Linked DNA regions of Homo sapiens: all the other regions are linked to region 1. Evidence: promoter capture Hi-C in human tissues and cell types (Jung and others, 2019). All regions are on one chromosome and are shown on one strand. Each heading gives the region's core, a stretch centred on a gene start or on the middle of the fragment in contact. The rest is flanking DNA. Distances are from core to core; before and after follow the strand shown. Region 1 holds the start of SPINT3 (serine peptidase inhibitor, Kunitz type 3). Region 2 overlaps LINC02597 (long intergenic non-protein coding RNA 2597). Region 3 holds the start of SLPI (secretory leukocyte peptidase inhibitor).

What was found. The method cuts DNA at HindIII sites, captures the fragments that hold promoters and counts their contacts. A contact is called where the count stands out against the background at its distance.
Region 2: a fragment that was not itself captured here is called in contact with the fragment with the promoter of SPINT3 in region 1 in 1 of the 25 tissues and cell types used here (pancreas).
Region 3: a contact is called between the fragment with the promoter of SLPI here and the fragment with the promoter of SPINT3 in region 1, in 1 of the 25 tissues and cell types used here (IMR-90 fibroblasts).

Annotation. Positions count from the first base shown.
Region 1 is chr20:45,513,736-45,518,356 of GRCh38, forward strand. It overlaps SPINT3 (serine peptidase inhibitor, Kunitz type 3), which reads right to left and starts at 1,887. Exons shown (of 2, transcript NM_006652.2): 1 at 1,798-1,887. The coding sequence starts at 1,873. The region is part of intron 1 of LOC107987282 (a long non-coding RNA gene); the gene reads left to right. The HindIII fragment of the contact is 13,872 bases long and covers 1-4,621 here.
Region 2 is chr20:45,180,205-45,184,825 of GRCh38, forward strand. All of the region lies in intron 1 of LINC02597 (long intergenic non-protein coding RNA 2597), which reads left to right. Among named protein-coding and RNA genes, the nearest start is that of LINC02597, 2.5 kb to the left of the region's middle. The HindIII fragment of the contact is 4,169 bases long and covers 121-4,289 here.
Region 3 is chr20:45,252,152-45,256,772 of GRCh38, forward strand. It overlaps SLPI (secretory leukocyte peptidase inhibitor), which reads right to left and starts at 2,413. Exons shown (of 4, transcript NM_003064.4): 1 at 2,308-2,413; 2 at 1,424-1,582; 3 at 851-1,000; 4 at 88-268. The coding sequence starts at 2,392. The coding sequence ends at 264. The region is part of intron 2 of LOC105372630 (a long non-coding RNA gene); the gene reads left to right. The HindIII fragment of the contact is 21,755 bases long and covers 1-4,621 here.

The DNA.
Region 1 (4,621 bases), core at 637-3,136:
GTGGGCAGTTTTACTCTTCATGGTAGCTAGTAGAATTTCCAACATTATGTGAAGAAACTAAGGCCAGATAAATGAAGTACCTGTCCTAATGTCAGGCTAGGAAGCAGTAGGACCAAGAATCAAACCCAGCATGGTTCGACTGCAAAGGCTTGCAGGTTCTCCATCCATCTTGGTTGTTGTAAAATGAGTGAATGCACAGATGAATGATCACACCTATGGTGGAACTTCAGGCAGCAGCCTAGGGCTTGGAAAGGTTCAGACTCTGTCTTATCCTCCTACCTGCAAGGCTGACGCTAAGGGTGCAGGAGAATGGGGAAGAGGCAGAATAGCTTATTCAATCCAGGTGGGAGGTGGAGGGGCATGTTCTTAAGACATCCTAGTCACTGCATCATCGGCCCTTAGACCCTTACAGGTGACTCTGTAGGGGCTGGAGTCCCATCTGCTCTTAGTTTTCTCAGTCTTGCTTCTCTGCTCTTCCATTCCATTAAACCAAAGGAAAATCACTTGACTTGCTTCTTTTTTATGTAAAGTAGATAATGACACCCTGTGTGTGTGTTTTGAGTGTGACAGAAGCTGTTCTAAGTGCTTTACAAGAATCTATTAAGAGCTAAGTTATACTGAGAGCTTGACATACATCAGACTATTTGATTAATAAAGCAGAAAAGATGGTTAATCTTTTTTTATAGAAGAAGAAACTGATGCTCAGAGAGGCTATAAATGATGTTCCTGAGGCACAGAGTTTGTAAGTAGAGGAGCCTGGACCAGAACCCAGGTGTGTCTGACTCCAGGAATGCTCATACTGTAAACCACTACATTCTTCTTACTTATGGCAGACATTTTCAAACTTGAGTATGCGTCAGAATCATCTAGAAGGCTTGTTAGAGAGACCCACCTCCACAGTTTCTGATCAGGTGGGACTGGGAACTAGCATGTTTCCAGTTGATACTGCTGCTGCTATTGCTGTCAGACTAGGGGACAAACTCGAGAACCACTCATCTATAAGGTTATTGGGAGGTTTAGAGTTCCATTTATGTCTAAGAATCTATCATTAATAGCTCCATGTACATACATGCAGAGAACTATGCTTGCACATGCAAGAATGTTCACTGGCACATTGACAGTGATAATCTCCAGAGGGTAAGATTTTGATAATTTTTCACCTTCTTTCTTACCCTTTTGTGTATTCTAATATGCATTTTTATACAGGGCATCCTACTGGCTGCTTAAAAATCTTGGAAACTGCTGCCTACCATCCCCATTTCCAGCAGATTATCTTAGCTATAACTGCACTTCATCTCCCCACTTCCATTTGCAGATTCCAAGCTTCCACAGAGAAAGTGGTCCAGGAAGGAGCCTTTTCTGACAAGTGCATCTAACTTGGCTAAGTCCCTCACTCTCAAATTCTGGCTCTGATCTCCTTTTCCCAACCTCTCCTTGCCTGCCACCAGCCCCACCCCAGACATTGAAGGCCCCTTTTCCTGCTTTACTTATTTCATTTTCTATAGCACTTTGATCATCTATCATTTGTATTAGGTATTGTATGTCTCTCTCCCATTAGCATCTTAATTTCACAAAGGCAGGGTCTCAGGCTCTTTGCTTTAACCTCAGCACCTAGGACAGTGCCTGGCACATAACTATGTGCCCAACATATGTCTGATGAAGTGAATTGAACTGAATTGACTCTCAATCCGGTAAGGTAAGAAATGGGCTCTGTTTGTGCTGCATCACCTCCCCCACCACCCCGCCCCCCAGCCTGATTCCCAGTCTATTCTTTGAGATCCCACATTTCATACCAACCTCGTGCTAGTTCTGATCGAAGCTCTAGGCAGAGAGTGAGAATCAGGAGAAACGAGAGAGAGGCCTGAAGCTGCATGGTGCCACTCAGCCAGTGGCTCAGCCTGGGGTTGCCATTTTAGGGAGAAAAGGGACCAAGGGGAGGAGCCTGGCCCCACATCCAGCTCATTCACCTTTAACTCAGGCTTTTCATGGGGCTGGGCTGCCTCAGGAACAGAGTGTTCAGCCAAAGCACAGCTTCACCTCTCTCCTCCTGGCCTTATCTGATCTGGCCACCCAGGCTACTTTAGTACCACTTCAGGGTGGAAGCCTTTTTCACAATAATAAAAAGACAGCAGCCATTTTTGAGTACCTTTCCTTTTCCAGGCACCATGCAAAATAGTTTTCACACATTGCTTCCCTTAAGTCTACACGGGAATCCCACAACACTAACACTCCCATTTTGTAGATGAGAGGAGGTTATGCTACTTTGACCATTGTTACATGGACAGCAAGTTTCAGAGACAAGACTGAGACCCCGGTCTGTCTGCTTCAGTGCCCTCGTATCACTCATTCATTCAACAAACATTCATCAAGTACCCACACTGCACCAGGCAAAGTATTAGATGCTGCCTCCATCCCATCTGGGTGCTCCCAGGAAATTATGGCAACAACACACACAAACACATTGGAAGTCAGAAACAGTCACCTACTTGGAGGAGGAGCAGATTCATTATATTTTAATAGAAATATCAAAAGCACCATGTAGAAGGAGGGCCCAGCTTTGTTTGCTTCAGAGGGTCATGGTCTCTAGAGACACACCCCCAGAATCCAGCACATTCCAACTGTCTCCTTTCCTTGACTCTCTAGAGATCCATTTTTTTTGAAAGACAAAGCCAGCATGCTTTAGGGAGATTTAGTGAGCCTCAGATTTAAAATTTGAGGTTGTGATGGGTCCAGCTATTCTTTTTCAAGAAGCATTCTATCATATATTTATTATTATTTATTTTTAATTGAGAAATAAAAATTGTATAAAGGCAGTCCCCAATTTACAATGGTTTGACTTACAGTGTTTGACTTTATGATGGTGCAAACACAATGCACAGTCAGTAAAAACAGTACTTGGAATACCCATACAACCATTCTGTGTTCACTTTTAGAACAGTATTCAATAAATTACATTAGATATTCAACACTTCATTATAAAAGGGGCTTTGTGTTAGATGATTTTGCCCAACTGTAGACTAGTATAAGTGTTCTGAGCAAGTTTAAGGTAGGTAAGGCTAAGCTATGATGTTTGGTAGGTTAGGTGTATTAAATGCATTTCAACTTCTGATATCTTCAACTTAGGCTAGGTTTATTAGGCTATAATCTCATCATAAGTTGAGAAACATTATATATTTATGAGGTACAATATGATGTTTTGAAATATATGTGTGTATATATATATAGAGAGAGAGAGAAATTTTCTCTCTTAGCAATTTTCAAGTGTACAATATGTTATTAACTACGGTCACCATGCTGTGCAATAGGTCTTTACAACTTATTCCGTCTGTCTAACTGAAATTTTGTACCCTTTGACCAGCACCTTCCCAATACTTCCCACCCCCAGCCCCGGGTATCCACCATTCTACTCTCTGCTTCTGTGACTTCAACTTTTTTAGATTCCACATGTAAGTGAGATCACCTGGTATTTGTCTTTCTGTCCCTGGCTTATTTCACGTAACCTGCAGGTTCATCCACGTTGTCACAAATGGTAGGATTTCCTTCTTTTTAAAGGCTGAGTAGTATTCCATTGTGTATACATACCACATTTTCTTTATCCATCCAGTGACGGACACTTGGGTTGATTTAAGTCCAGCTACTCTTGACCTGGGCAAGTCATTTAACGTCTTCCAGCCTCAGTTTTCTCATCTATAAATTGGGGTTAATTATGTTGCTTTAGCATACTTCCCAGAATTGGTGCAAGTGTTCAATAAATATTCAAATGCCTCACACATTGTGAATGCACACACAGGTATATGTCTTTTGCAAGGGATGCGTGTGTGTGTGTGGCAATGATGCCTTTTTGAAAATGGGGGTGCTAACTGGATCAGCAGCATACTTAGTTGCTACAGAAATGTTTTCCCCATCTTTGCACATTAGTTATAGCTCTTCCTTTTCTTTAAATTCCCTAGAACCATGATACTCATTCCTTGGCCATTGCTTTCTCTAACTATAGCTTATACAATTGTTGGTCGATCCTCTCATTATCTATTGATCTTTGCTGTTTACCCCACATTTATTTCCTTGAAGGCACTTCTGAAGCCTACATTGCAACATCTCTTTGGTATAACTTCTTTTGCACTTTGAGGGGTCCACCAGCATTATCCTTGATATCGCCTTTCTTAGCCCTCTTGGGTGATCAAATCTGTTCATCAGAAAACAAAATAATGATAGAAGGAAGAAATAAATAGACTGTCACTTGTTGTGCAGGCAGAGGAAAGGCGGGGGCGCCTATTGATGATCCTTGGCTGAGAGCTTCCTGCAGTGTTGCCTCCTCTGGGGCAATGGATCAGGAAGTGAGAAGCTGCCTTTAAACGTACTATTCAGGAAAGCAGGGGAGGGAGTGATACTGCCCCCAAGGACACTCGGCAATGTCTAGAGACATTTTTGATTGGGGGCATCTACTGGCTTCTAGTGTGTTGAGGCAGAGATATTGCTAAACACCCTATACTGCTCAGGACAGCCCTCACATTTGGCATCAAATGTTAATCTTGCCAAGGTTAGGAAACCCTGCAGAAGAGCAATAGATACAAACACTTTTTTAAAAAATTATAATAATATTTCCAACATTAACAGCATGATA
Region 2 (4,621 bases), core at 955-3,454, 330 kb before region 1:
TCCATGCATTGGATGTGTCCTCTAGACTCAAACCAGATTTCAAAAGCAGATATGGGGTACCAGTTCTCCTAACTTCCCAAGCAATGAGAGGTGCTGTTACTAGGGAAGACAGCCTTGTCCAAGGAGTGCTGGAACCAGACAAGGGCTTGGAGACCCAAGGCCTCAAAGAGAGATACAAGGCCCCAACATGTTTCACTTTGCTGTCCCTGCATGGCCTCCCTAGAGATATTGACACCTGATTAACAAATCTTGAATGGCATAAAGGACAACAAAATGACTGTGGGGAGATGTCATTTCCCTCCTTACTTTATCACGATTGCACAGACCCCTGAAGGGAGAAATGCATTTCCTAATTTCACTCAGTAAGTCAAACCCAGAAAAGAACTGGTTCTCTGATTCCCAGACATGGGTTCGTTGTACAATTGTCTGAAAATAGCTGACTTGATCAAATTGTTTCAAATGTAATTTCTATAATTCCAATTGATGCCTCAGTATTTGTCTCCTAATACTTGGAGTCTTTCATTGTTTTCCAATTGTTTAGAATTTCAAAGGAAATTATTAATTAATAGAAATAAGGAATTCACAGCATGATGAGGGCCCAATTTGGGAGATGTGACTTTGGACCAAGTATCTTTTTTTTTTTTTTTGCGACATCTAAGCTTGGTCCTGCCCACCTAGGAGGCTGTGTAACTGTGCAGAGAAGGGAGTCTTTCTACCCACGTTAACTTATCCAGCTTCAAGTCCCTTCCAGGTACCCTCTGTCCTCCGATTCCCTTCTGGAATTCAGGAACAGGTAGTACTATGTCACCTCCCAGACCTAAGTCTTACTCCTAACAGACCTGGATAAGTTCCCTGTTCTCACTAACCTCAGTAACACCATCTGGAAAAGAGAAGGCCTAAGCACGTGGAGTTTTTGAGCCCCTCTAATAGAGCCTCCAAACTACCTAGAGCAAGCTTGTCCAACTTGTGGCCTGCAGGCTGCATGTGGCCCAGGATGGCTTTGATTATGGCCCAACACAAATTCATAAATGAGTTTCTTTGTGATTTTTTTTAGCTCATCAGCTATCGTTAGTGTTAGTGTATTTTATGTGTGGCCAAAGATAATTCTTCCAATGTGGGCCAGGGAGGCCAAAAGATTGGACACCCCAGGCCAGGCGCAGTGGCTCACGCCTGTAATCCCAGCACTTTGGGAGGCCGAGGCGGGCCGATCATGAGGTCAGGAGATCGAGACCATCCTGGCTAACACAGTGAAACCCCGTCTCTACTAAAAATACAAAAAATTAGCCGGGCGTGGTGGCGGGCACCTGTAGTCCCAGCTGCTTGGGAGGCTGAGGCAGGAGAATGGCGTGAACCCAGGAGGCGGAGTTTGCAGTGAGCCAAGATTGCACCACTGCACTCCTGCCTGGGCGACAGAGCAAGACTCCAGCTCAAAGAAAAAAAAAAAAAAAAAGATTGGACACCCCTGACTGAGAGCTTTCTAAGGAGAAATTTGACTATGTGGGCAACTTTTGGGAGGAAGTCAGAAGAAGGGGAAAAATGACTGGATTTGGGGTCCACCTGGCACATTTAAGTCCTCTAAAATGCCATTTGAGTGAGTCACAGTGGCTTAATGAGCTTAGCAGACATCAAGTTTTCAATTACAAGAGAAGACATATATTCTCTGCTCTCCTCCCTTTGTTTCCACCATCTGGATCCAATAATCCAAAACCCAGCAGGGTTCTGGCTTCTTGTCTGAGGCCAGCAGCCCTCTGCTTGTCCCTGAGGCTTTATGGTGATTCCCAAGACGGAACGATAGAGCAGCCACTGGTCAGCCTCAGGAAAAATCAAGCCACTTCTCATGCCCTGTCTAGAACTGAGACAGAGAGACTCTCCTCCAACCAGTCATGTGGGTCAGCCATCTCAAGGGTAAGCAGGTGTCAGCCCTAGGAGGTAAAAACAGGCACCTAGTGTTTATCAGCTCTTAGCATGTCCCCTGATTACACAGCCTTCCATCCAATTTAGAACAGGAAGTACCCCTTGACATTATCACGAACCACCTTCTCACATTAAGGAGGAGAAAACTGAGTCCCAGAGAGGAGAATGAAGGTCTTTCAGTCACAGAGTGCTCCGTAGCCTTGCTGGGCCTAGAACTAAGATGTAGCGCTAACTTCCTAATAAGGTCACTTTGATGGATCCACTTGATCTGGGCCATGAAAGGTGGTCCATTGGATTGAGCCTGACAGCCTAGAGTGATGGAACAGCATAAGGTAATGTGTGAAAGCAAAAACAAAGAGAAGACACTGCAGATGGAAGCAATCTGGCTGAGATAATTTTCTACAACTCTGTGACAAGTCAGCTATTCTCAGTGGAATTTTCAGCACCCCCTTATTCTCTCATTTTAATTATCTTAACTTTCTGTATTTTTTATTCTTATCTCACACGTTTCAATAAAATAGCTTTATAGTATCTTTTAGCCTCTTTCATTGTGGAAAGGGCTGTAGGAGTTTTAGAGACAATCTTTCTACCTCATTCATTTTTACGTTTGTTAGAACTGAATTCCAGAGATAGGAAAGAATTTGCCTAGTTTTTAGCAAATCCACTGTGATACCAAAAAAAAAAAAAAAGCCATGGAAGGCCAGGTGTGGTGGCTCATGCCTGTAATCCCAGCACTTTGGGAGGCCAAGGTGGACGGATTACTTGAGGTCGGGAGTTTGAGACCATCCTGGCCAACATGGTGAAACCCCGTCTCTACTAAAAATACAAAAATTAGCCAGGCATGGTTGCAGGCGCCTGTAATCCCAACTACTCAGGAGGTTGAGGCAGGAGAATTGCTTGAACCAGGGAGGCGGAGGTTGCAGTGAGCTGAGGTCGCGCCACCGTATTCCAGCCTGGTGACAGAGCGAGACTCCATCTCAAAAAGAAAAAAAAAATGCAAAGGAAACATGATGAATTCTGAACTTGTATTTAGTTTTCAGTGAGATGGTAGAGGTTTCATATTGATTCAGATGTTAACCTTTCCCCAGTGACTGCTTTTTAATACCGTTTGCTTCCTTTCTTATTGGATTGTCCAGATTATTTCAATCTATTTGTAGGAGTGCTTATTATTTAAATATGATTCACTATTTGCTTTTATACATTAACAAATATTTTTCTGGTGAGTTGTTAACTACAGTCATGGGTCACTTAGTGACAAGTGATATGGTCTCAGAAATGGGTTGTTAGGTGATTTTGTGGCTTAGTTATGCAATGCATGATTTTATTCTTTTCCTTTGCTTATATCATATTTTCCCTTCCAAAGATTATCAATTTTTATAAAGTCAAATTTTTATCATTCTCAGGAAATCCTCAAATCAGCATTTTACAAAAAAAAAAAAAACAAAGAAAAAACCAAAAACCTCACCAGACTTTTAGGACAACTGGAGTCTTGGCGGTCCACTCTATGATGTTCTTGTATCTTGCACCTTGCAAGAGCATCATAAGGTGGACTTACAGGAACCTAGATGTATAGCTTACTACACAGCTAGGCAATATGGTATAGCCTATTGTTCCTAGGCTACAAACCTGTACACTATGTTATTGTACTGAACAGTGTAGTCAATTGCAACTCAATGGTAAGTACTTGTGTATCTAAACATATCTAAATGTAGAAAAGGTACAGTAAAAATATGGTATAAAATATTTAAAAATAGCATACCTGTATAGAGGACTTACCATGAATGCAGCTTGAAGGTCTGCAAGTTGATTGGTCTTGTGAATCATTAAGTGAATGGTAAGTGAATGTCAAGAACTAGGACATTGCTGTCCATTACTGTAGACGTAAACATTATACACTTAGACTACACAAAATTTATTTAAAAGTTTTCTTTCTGCAATAATAAATTAACCTTAACTTAGTATAAAATCTTTATACACTTTTTTATTTTTAATTTTTTCACTCTTTAGTAGTAAAATTTAGCTTAAAACACAAACACATTGTACAGCTACCCAAAAATATTTTAAAAAAATCCTTATTCTATAGGCTTTCTTCCTTTTAAATTATTATTTTTTCCTTTTAAAACTTTTTTGTTGGCCAGACATGGTGGCTTATGCCTGTAATCCCAGCACTTTGGGAGGGCGAGGCAGGTGGATCACGAGGTCAGGAGGTCGAGACCATCCTGGCTAACACGGTGAAACCCCGTCTCTACTAAAAAATACAAAAAATTTGCCGGGCGTGATGGTGGGCGCCTGTAGTCCCAGCTACTCAGGAGGCTGAGGCAGGAGAATGGCATGAACCTGGGAGGTGGAACTTGCAGTGAGCCCAGATCCTGCCACTGCACTCTAGCCTGGGTGACAGAGCAAGACTCCACCTCCAAAAAAAAAAAAAAAATACAAAAAAAACTAAGACACAAACACATAATAGCCTAGGCCTGCACAGGGTCAGGATCATCACTATCACTGTCTTCCACCTCTACATCTTGCCAGGATCATCAATATCACTGTCTTCCACCTCTACATCTTGCCACACTGGAAGGTCTTCGGGAGCAATAACACATACAGTTGTCACCTCCGGTTATAACAATGACTTCCTCTGGAATACAGACTGAAGAAACTGCCTGGGACTGTTTTACAGTTGAGTTATTTTTTAATAAGTAGAGGATGGACA
Region 3 (4,621 bases), core at 1,163-3,662, 260 kb before region 1:
ATTCATAGGAAGGAGGCCTCATATCTAGATCTTCCCTCACAGCTTCCCACCCCACTCATACCCCCAACGAATCACAGAAGCAGGATGTGCAAAGAGAAATAGGCTCGTTTATTTATTCATTGATCAACTGGCACTTCTTGAAAGCCTGCTGTGTGCCAAGCCTTTCCCCAAAGGAGGATATCAGTGGTGGAGCCAAGTCTCAGGGTGGAAAGGACCTGGACCACACAGAGCAGGACTCCAGAGCCTCCTCCATATGGCAGGAATCAAGCTGTGAGAGAAAATCAGATAAGAGCTTCAGCATAGAAACCAGCCAAATCATATCCACATCCTTCCTCCTGCCCAAGGATCCTTCTGAGATAGAGAAAATAGCAAGATAGCGCTATAGTTGAGAGAGACTTAGTGTCAGGAGACAAGTCTCATTTTCACCGTAAAACTCTAAACTCAAAGCATTGAACTAGATAATCCTCAAACTCCACTGATCCTTTGTGATTTCACCTCAGAAAACATGATGGAAACAACCTGAATAATAAATTCTTAGTGCACATAGTGCTTTGCAGAGCACTTTCAATCTCATTATGTACATTTTACCGATAAAGAAACTGAGACTCAGAAAGACACTTGCCCAGGACCCCCACCCAGAGACACTAGAATAGAATCAAAGCCACAGGCGATCCTATGGAAATCCTGGCCCTGAGACCTGGAGAACAGTTCTCTTGAAGGACAAGGGAGTCAGACAGAGGCTGTGCTTGGAGTAGGGTTCAGGAGTCCCCCTGCCCATATGCCTGGGCCTCCAGAGGGTTGAGGCTGAGAGGGCTGGAGGGAGCTCAGTGTGCCCTCATCCCCTGCTTACCTTTCACAGGGGAAACGCAGGATTTCCCACACATGCCCATGCAACACTTCAAGTCACGCTTGCACTGGCCATCCATCTCACAGAAATTGGGGGGGTTAAGCATCAAACATTGGCCATAAGTCACTGGGCACTTCCCAGGCTTCCTCCTTGCTGGGTGAGAGTGAGGCTACCGGTCAGAGGCCTTGTACTTTATACAACCCCTCCCATCCCCACTTTTTAGAGTGAGCCCCTGCTCCAGCTTCAGCAGGGGGGATCATCCCCTCCCCACCTCTATCACCACCACCTTCTCCCTAAGGCGGCCCCCAAACATAGCACCTGGCTCTCCTAGAACTTCAGGCCCCCCATTGATGCAGGTGGCCAGCCACCCAGTGCTGACTAGGTGGGAGGCTTCCAACTACCTGGCTATCTAAATGCCCGCTGCTTCACCAGCTGCTGGCTACCTTCCTGCTTAGGGCAGTGTGACTCACTGACGGATTGACAAGGAGGCCTGGCAGGACCCATCACCCAGTTCCATCCCTCTAATGCTGTGTCCCCAGGCTCACTCCTCTCTACCCAGTTCCCCGACCTGCTTACTTGGGTTTGGGGTGTCAACAGGATCCAGGCATTTGATGCCACAAGTGTCAGGACAACATCTCTTCTTCCCTGGACACTGCCAGTCACTCTGGCACTCAGGTTTCTTGTATCTAAGGCACTGGGCAGATTTCTTAGGAGGACAGACTCCAGCTTTGAAGGCTTTTGAAGAGAAAGTCAAGAGGTCAGGAGGAGGCTGGGTACTGAGGACCCATCATGCCTCCTGAACAAAGCACCACTTTTGAGGGGGAGAGACCCTTACCTCAGTAGCTGTCCACAAAGCCCAAAGGGTCATGCCTGCCTGATCTCCAGGTGTATTGATGGGCTTGATTAAATTAGACAAATGGACAGGGGACGTTTCACACCCAAGAAAAGGGCAGCAGGCTTCTAGTCAAGACCTCCCACCCAAGAGCAAAACAAGGCTACACAAAGGCAGAGAGGAAGGCTGGGAGTGATGGAGATGGAGAGAGGTAAACAAAGATAAATAGAACCAGTGTGAGAGAAGTTGAGAGCTAAAGCCCAAGGCAGAAGCACAGAGACAAAATAGCAGAAGCAAAGACACAAGGAAGCAGAGTCAGAAACTAATGATTTGAGAGTCGCAGACAGGTGAAGAAGAAGGCGGAGTATGAGAGAGAGAGAGAGAGAGAGAGAGAGAGAGAGAGAGTGGGACCTGGGCTGACAGCATGGCTGCATAGAGGAAGCATTTCCAGAAGCTCAAACTGTCACACAAACCTTGGAGCTCAGCCAGACATGTATTCCACCCTCAGGGAGGTCTCCCGAAACTAAGCTGAGGGATCAGAGCCTACAGAAGGGGACACACCCACACCACAAGGAGACCCCACCTCTGACCCTGCAGCCCAGATTAGACCAGAGTGACTCCAACTTACACTTTCCAGAGCCTTCCACAGCCCAAGGTGCCAGAGTTCCCAGGGCAAGCAGCACCAGGAAGGGGAAGAGGCCGCTGGACTTCATGGTGAAGGCAGGAGTGACTCTGATGGCCAATGCCAAACCTCACTATTTATTCTTTCACCAGTGGGTGTGGCCCCACCAGAATTCTTTCGGCCTCTCCCAGCTACTATTGCATAAGCAGGAAACGTAGCCAGAGACCAGAAATCCTGACACCAAGGAGATTGTTTATCTTTCCTATGCCAGGTAAGGCTATGAGGCCAACACAGCAACTATCAGAAAAGAAAGGGAAGAGATTGGCCTGGGAAGTTGGTTGATTAAAGAGGCCATCTCAGTGTCCATCTGAGCCCTAAACATCACAAGATCCCAGGCCATTAGCCTTATAGGTGGAGAGAGGGAAGAAGTGGTCAATTGCAAAGGTGCTACCCGGACCTGGAACTAAAACCAGACACAGACTCCCTGCTGAGACTTTGTGCAATACATTCTATTCTCACATTGCTAATTCTGATTCTCACATTACTGGACTCTCAGGCATTGTGAAACTCTGCTGATTACTCAATGCAGTTTCTTTCTCAAAAGTTCAGCTCGTTCAACCAACTGATACTTAGTTCCCTGAAATATTTACACCGTTATATCCCCAGTGCCTGTTCTGTGCCTGACACAGGAAAAGCACTCACAAATGAAAGCTGAAGAAGAGCTCCGCTCTCCACAAATCTCTCTGGAGCTCAGTTGTCTCAGCTGTGAAATGAAATGATACTAACAAGTCAGCCCTTCTCAGAGGGTTATGAAATTAAGGGCATGAAGGGACTCTGAATGAAAAGAACAAATGAATAGTATCCCTTCCCACTAAAGAGAATTGAAATGAATCTGAGATAAAGGGGGAAAGCAGCTCATCAGTCACTGTAATCTACATTTAGCTGTGAGATAATTTGAGATCTTAGAGGATTGCTTCCTAAAATTCCCCAAAATCCCTTACAGATCTCACATGACAGCAAAAAATTAAACCCATTCTATTTGCTACCCAGTCTGCATAGGTTGCTTCTAATTATAAAGAGAGCGACCATTATCTCTAAAATTCAGCCCATAGCTGAGTGTAGGGTCGCACACTTGCTGTCTCAGCTGCCCAGGAGGCTGAGGTGTATGGATTCCTTGAGAGTAGGAGTTTGAGACCAGCCCTGGCCACATATTGAGACCCCATCTCTACAAAAAAATGTAAAAAATTAGCCAGGCATGATGACGTACGTATGCCTGTAGTCCCAGCTACTTGGGAGGCTGAGCCAGGAGGATCGCTTTAGCCCAGGAGTTTGAGGCTGCAGTGAGCCATGATTGTGCCACTGCATTCCAGCTTGGGGGACAGAGCGATACCCTGTCTTAAAAAAATAAAATAAAATAAAATTCAACCAAAGCTCATCTAGCTACAAACTCCAAGCTCTTGACTCATTATCTTCATGCTTGGAATTCTCCCATTCATTCCTAAGGTGAAGGTTTGTGGAACTTTCCACAGACATGAAAGACCCACTCATTATCAAGTAGCGATGGCCCCACATGAAGTATTTAAGTATTCCACAACCAAACAGGCAACTGGCAGCAGATCCCTTTATACAAAAGTCACTCCATGGTTTGAATTTTGGTGGATCAGAAGACTTGGACATAATCAATCATCAGTCAAATTTTGGTGGAAAAAGAAAAGGAAGAAAATTAATATGCACAAGGTAACTACTATGAGCCAGGTGCATTCACTCTTAGTTGGAGTACTTAGTAGGGTAGGTAAGAGAGAAATGGAGGCTATGATTTCCACCAATGGGTAATGACACTCTCAGGTCAAGATTTTTGTTCTCACTTCCACCACCCAGGGGATAATTTGATTTCTCTCACAGAGTTCCTGTTCTCTCTCTCTCTCTCTCTCTCTGTTTGTTCCTATTTTCCTCAGTGCCACACTCAAGAAATTATCTGGAGTTTTCTAAATATTTATTTCTTAAAGAATGAAAAGGGGCTGGGCACGGTGGCTTATGCCTGTAATCCTAGCACTTTGGGAAACCAAGGTGGGCGGATCACTTGAGGTCAGGAGTTCAAGAGCAGCCTGGCCAACATGGTGAAACCCTATCTCCACTAAAAATACAAAAATTAGCCAGGCAGTGTGGCACACACCTGTAATCCCAGCTACTCAGGAGGCTGAGGCAGGAGAATCACTTGAACCCTGGAGGTAGAGGTTGCAGTGAGCTGAGATTGTACCATTGCATTCTAGCCTAGGCAACAAACTGAGACTCCGTCTCAAAAAAAAAAAAAATTAAAAGG